2 separate regions of the Homo sapiens genome follow, and region 1 is linked to region 2. Evidence: promoter capture Hi-C in human tissues and cell types (Jung and others, 2019). All regions are on one chromosome and are shown on one strand. Each heading gives the region's core, a stretch centred on a gene start or on the middle of the fragment in contact. The rest is flanking DNA. Distances are from core to core; before and after follow the strand shown.

What was found. The method cuts DNA at HindIII sites, captures the fragments that hold promoters and counts their contacts. A contact is called where the count stands out against the background at its distance.
Region 1: a contact is called between a fragment that was not itself captured here and the fragment with the promoter of CDC42BPB in region 2, in 1 of the 25 tissues and cell types used here (dorsolateral prefrontal cortex).

The regions. Positions count from the first base shown.
Region 1 is chr14:102,789,536-102,792,259 of GRCh38, forward strand. All of the region lies in intron 1 of TRAF3 (TNF receptor associated factor 3), which reads left to right. It overlaps LOC124903426 (small nucleolar RNA U13), which reads right to left and starts at 56; the gene lies at 1-56. RefSeq lists an enhancer at 933-1,002. The HindIII fragment of the contact is 5,003 bases long and covers 1-2,724 here.
Region 2 is chr14:103,055,977-103,059,079 of GRCh38, forward strand. CDC42BPB (CDC42 binding protein kinase beta) reads right to left here and starts at 1,573. Exons shown (of 37, transcript NM_006035.4): 1 at 1,023-1,573. The coding sequence starts at 1,197. RefSeq lists silencers at 1,245-1,324, 1,415-1,914, 1,955-2,064 and an enhancer at 2,060-2,710. The HindIII fragment of the contact is 24,533 bases long and covers 1-3,103 here.

The DNA.
Region 1 (2,724 bases), core at 109-2,608, 270 kb before region 2:
GCACCTCTCACACCTTCATTTGAATACCCAATCACACTTATGAACTACAAAAGGATATATGTGTGTGTGTGTGTGTGTGTGTGTGTGTGGTATGTGTATATGTATGTATATATTTTTGTTTAAAGCTATTCTAGTTAAAGTGGTATCTCGTGGTTTGGGTTTGTATTTTCTTGATGAGCAAAGATATTGAATGTCTTTTCATGTGACTCTTGGCCATTTGTGTATTTTTGGAGGGAAGACAATGTTTGTTGAGTTCTTTATATATTCTGAATGTTAAACTTTTTTTTTTTCTTCTTTTTTTTGAGACCGAGTCTCCTTCTGTTGCCCAGGCTGGAGTGCAGTGGTGCAGTGGCATGATCTTGGCTCACTGCAATCTCCGCCTCCTGGGTTCCAGCAATTCTCATGCCTCAGTCTCCTGAGTAACTGGGACTACAGGCACACGCCACCATGCCTGGCTAATTTTTGTATTTTTAGTAGAGATGGGGTTTTGCCATGTTGCACAGGCTGGTCTAGAACCCCTGGCCTCAAGTGATCCACCCACCTCAGCCTCCCAAAGTGTTGGGATTATAGGTGTGAGCCACTGCACTCAGCCTCTTCTGAGTTTTATTGTTTTAGTTTTTACCTTTAGGTTTTTGATCCATTTCAGTTAATTCTTGTATATGGAATGAGATAGGAGTCCCAATTCATTCTTTGTATGTTCTTATTTAGTTTTCCCAGCACCATTTATTGAAAACACTATTCTTTCCCTATTGAATCGTCTTGGCACCCTTGTTAAAAATAAATTGGCCATAGATGTTTGCATTTATTTCTGGACTCTCAGTTCTATTCTGTTGCTCTGTAAGTCTGTTACATCAGTACCACACTATATTAGTCTGTTCTCATGCTGCTAATAAAGACATACCTGAGACAGGGTAATTTATAAAGAAAAAGAGGTTTAATGGACTCATTGTTTCACATGGCTGGGGAGGCCTCACAATCATGGTGAAAGGCAAAGAAGGAGGAAAGGTATGTCTCACATGGCAGCAGGCAAGAGAGTCTGTGCAGGGGAACTGTGCTTTATAAAACCATCAGATCTTGTGAGACTTACTATCATGAGAACAGCACCCCCACGATTCAGTTACCTCCCCCTGGGTTCCTTCCCATAACATGTGGGGATTATATGAGCTACAATTCAATATGAGATTTGGATGGGGACACAGCCAAACCATATCACACACTGTTTTGATTACTGAAGCTTTGTAGTAAGTTTTGAAGTAGTAAGTTTGGGAAGTATGAGTCTCCCAACTTTTTCATTTTCTATATTGTTTTGACTATTTGGGGCCAGTTGCAACTTTATATGAATTTGAATATCACCTTTTTCATTTCTGCAAAAAAGGTCATTGGAATTTTAATAGGGAGGGGATTGATTCTGTAGATTGCTTTGGGGGGTTGCAATCTTAACAGTATTGTCCTCCAATCCATGAACGTGAGATGTCTTTTCTTTTCTTTTTTTTTTTTTTTTCGAGAGGGAGTCTCGCTCTGTTCCCCAGGCTGGAGTGTAGTGGCACAGTCTCGGCTCACTGCAACCTCCGCCTCCCGGGTTCATGCCATTCTCCTGCCTCAGCCTCCCGAGTAGCTGGGACTACAGGCACCTGCCACCATGCCTGGCTAATTTTTTGTATTTTTTGTAGAGACGGGGTTTAACTGTGTTAGCCAGGATGGTTTCAATCTCCTGATCTCGTGATCCACCCACCTCGGCCTCCCAAAGTGCTGGGATTACAGGTATGAGCCACCGCGCCCAGCTGAACTTGGGATGTCTTTTCATTCAATTATGTCTCCTTTAATTTCTTTAAGCAATATTTTGTAGTGTTAGTGTACAAATCATTCATCTCTTTGGATAAATTTATTTCTGGGTGCTTTATTTTTGTGGGTTCTATTGTAAATGAAATTATTTTCTTACCTTTCTTTTTGTATTGCTCATTGCTGGTATATAGAAACAACTGATTTTTGTATGTTGGTCTTATGCCCTACAACCTTGTTGAATTTATTACCTCTAGTAGTTATTTTGTGGGTTCTGTGGGATTTCTTTATACAGAATCATGTCACCTGCATATATAATTTACCTCTTCTTTCTAATTTGAATGCCTTTTATTTCTTTTTCTTGCCTAATTGCTCTGGCTAAGACATTTAGTAAAATTTTGAATAGGAGTGATGAAAGTGAGCATCCTCATATTGTTCCTGATCTTAGGGGAAGCTTTTCACCATTGATTATGAAGTTAGCTGTGTTTTCTTTCTTTCCTTTTTTTTTTTGTTTTTGACACAGGGTCTTGCTCTGTCACCCATGCTGGAGTGCAGTAGTGCAATCATGGCTGACTTCAACCTCTGCCTCCCAGGCTCAAGCGATCCTCTCACCTCAGCCTCCTGAGTAGGTGGGACCAAAGGCACATGCCACAATGCCCTGCTGTTTTTTTTTATTTTTTATTTTTGGTAGAGATGGGTTTCGCCATGTTGCCCAGGCTAGTCCCAAACTCCTGAGCAGTCAGCCCACCTTGGCCTCCCAAAGTGCTGGGATTACAGGTGCGAGCCACTGTGCCTGGACTTTTTTTTTTTTTTTTTTTTTTTTTTTATCAGACCAGGTCTCACTCTTTTGCCCAGGCTGGAGTACAGTGATGTGATCATAGCTCACTGCAGTCTTGAACTCCCAGGCTCAAGCAGTGCTCCTTCTTTAGCCTCCCCGGTAGCTGG
Region 2 (3,103 bases), core at 323-2,822:
AGTGGTTTTAGGTGAGACAGTCTGAGGGTCTTGACCGGCACACCCGTTAGGGAGAGATGAAGTAAAAGAGTTTCACGCTGCACTTTTACCTGTCTTTAGGATCCTAATTATCGTTAAATGGTTTAATCAAATTTTTGTCCTAAAAAAGCATAATAGGTTAGCTGACCAATGATTAAAACATTATAGATCCGGAACGAACTAGAGAAGGCATGCAAAATTCAGATGAGAAAGTTTCTAAGTGATAGCTCCAGCTACCCCTCCAAATATCACAAAGGTCTAGCAGAATTGGAATTAAAAAAAAAAAGTCCTCTTGCACGGTTTATTTAAAATAAAGCCTTAACCTTAAAATTCCCTTGAAGGTGTTACAGCAAAGTAGGTATTCAGGCTCTGACCAACAAGGGGATGTAGACAGGCTGTCACCCAGGAGGGGCCGTTAGAGCTGGGCTCCCTGGGGATGCAAGGGGGTCCCACGGGGCAGTGGGCGAGGCAGATGCAGAAAGCACACCCAGCTGCCCCCACAACGCAGAGAAGCGTGGGGTGGGGAAAGGGAACTAATTCCACACTGCCTCCGGACCCCAAAGGCGAGGTGCGGGGGCGGGGGCGGGGGCGGGGGCGGATATCCCAGTGAGTGCTGCAGGAAATGATATCCAGACTCGGAGGGTGGATCTAGGAAGCCGCCAGGGCGAGGGCCCGGCGGGGGGGAGGGGGTGGGAGTGGGAACGTAGGATGTGGCTCCAAGGGGCAGGATGAGGGGGCGGGACGATCGAACGCGGATGTCGAGCCTAGGGAGGGCAAGGAGGGATGAAAAGCTAGCGGAGGGACGAGGGTGCAAGGAGCGGCTGGAGAGAGATGGGCTGCGGGCCTGGGGGCGCTGCCAGAGCGAGAGGAGGCGAAGCCCACGAGCTGGGTGGGCAGGAGGGCGGCAGGGTCTGTCCGGGCGGGGATGGGCGGGCGTGGGGATGCGCGGGCTGGGGCGCGGGGGTCGCAGAGCCGCAGGTCCGGCCCTGCCGGCGCGCACTTACCCCACTCGAGGAACTCGGCCACGTACTTGTCGCGGCGCAGGGCCGAGTGGCTGCACTCGGTGTACAGGCAGACGAGCACGTCGAGCAGCGTTTCCACGCTCAGGGCGCTCTCGTTGCGCCAGGGCCCGTCCAGGAGCAGCTGCTCCAGCTTCTTGAGCCGCACCTTGGCCGACATGGTGCCGCGCGGCCCGCTCCCGACGCGCCGGCCTCTCACCGCCGGCTCGGCCAGTCCGTCAGGGCGCGCCCTCGGGGGCTCGGCGGCTGCGAGCCCCGGCAGCAGCGGCGCCTCCTCGCCGCCCCGTCCGCGTCGTCGCGCCCCGGCCTAGGCCGACATCTTGGGCTCCGTCCCGACGGCGCAGAGTCTGGGGCGCCGGGCCCCGCGGGTCCATGGGCCGCTCTCCTCCCCTCGGCGCCGCCGCCCTCCCAGCTCGGGCGGCCCGCCCCCGCCGCCCTCAGCCCCGCCCGCGGCCGCGCCCTCCCCGCCGCCGCCGCCGCAGACTAGGAGCGGCGAGGAGCCTAGCGCTGCGCAAGCCCGGCCGGCGCCCGAGCCCGACCCCAGCCCCGACCCGGCGGCCCAGCCCCGCGGCCCGCAGCCAACCAGGGCGCGGCCAGCACCAGCGCAGCCAACCACTACGGGGCCGGCCGCCGCCGCGCTGACCTCAGCGCGCCGCCCCGCCCCGCGCCCGGCTCCCTGCTCCCGGCGGGCTCGGGCCTCGCCGCTTGCCGTAGGGAGCCGGGATGCTGGGAAGGCAGGGCCGGGCCTGGGGAGCGGCGCGGGGTGGGGGTGGGGGGGGCGGGGCGGGGCGAGTGGGCCGCTGAGATTGCGGAGCCCGCGCATGCGCAGAGCGCGCCTGGTGGGCGTGTGCGCCTTCGCCCTGCGGACCCGGTGCCTTCAGTATTCGGGGTCCGACCGCGCGCGTCGCGGATCCCGGGGCCGAAGACGACCCCAAGTATCGGAGAGGCAGAGTCGCGATCTCAGGCCGTCGAGCCCCGTCCCGCAGTCCGCGGGCCCATGTTGCCTGCGGGGCCTCGGACCTGCCCGGCCGAGGTGGGGGTCGAGGGCGGCCCGGCAGGCGCAGCTCTGATGGCCTCGGCGGGTTGTGGGCTATTTAAAACGGCTTGTCCCAGCTCGAAGCGGTCCTGGAAGACTCGGGCCCTACCCCTGACTTTACCGATGAGAGACTGAGGCCCAGACGGTGTGGGGTCAGGGCCCAGGCTTCTGGGGGATGCTGCCAAGGCGGGAGCCAGCGTCCCCAGTGCCCGGTGGATTCGTGATGGCTTGCAGAGGGTTTCAGTTTCCACTGTCCAGCCCTCCCTGCAGACCAATGCCTAGGTGTGACAGTTTGGTAGGAAAGGGGCCGGATATTTGTCTCCAGGCTGGGTTTGCCTAGCGAGTCGCTGCATTTACTAAGATTGTTGGTTAATTTGGGTGGCTGGGGGAGGGAGGCTGATGGAGATACCCCCCAACCCCAACAAACCCTTGGCGTCAGGAGAGGAGGGGCTTTTCCTGGAGCTTGCGGAAGGTCACCGAAATCGTGGGGGTATCTGAGAGCTTCTGGGGCGCGCGGGTGCAGGGGAAGGGGTCATGCTTCCGTGGAAGCGGTGGCCTCCAGGTGGAGCCGATGAAGGGGCAGATAGGGGTTTGAAGCAGGACGTTAAGGGAGCCTGAAGCAAAACTAATCTCTGGAGCTAAAAATAGGAGTGGGCCTGGCGCGGTGGCTCACACCTGTAATCCCAGCACTTTAGGAGGCCGAGGTGGGCGGATTGCCTGAGCTCAGGACTTCGAGACCAGCCTGGGCAACACGGTGAAACCCCGTCTCTACTAAAATACAAAAAACTAGCCGGGCGTGGTGGCGCGCGCCTGTAGTCCCAGCTACTCGAGAGGCTAAGGCAGGAGAATTACTTGAACCCGGGAGGCGAAAGTGCAGTGAGCCAAGATCGCTCCACTGCACTCCAGCATGGGCAACAGAGCACGACTCCGTCTTAATAATAGTAATAATAATAAGAAGAAGAAGAAGAAGAAGAGGAGTGGCTGCCTATGCCGGAGTTGTTGACTGGAACAAGAGGAGGAACCTTCTGGG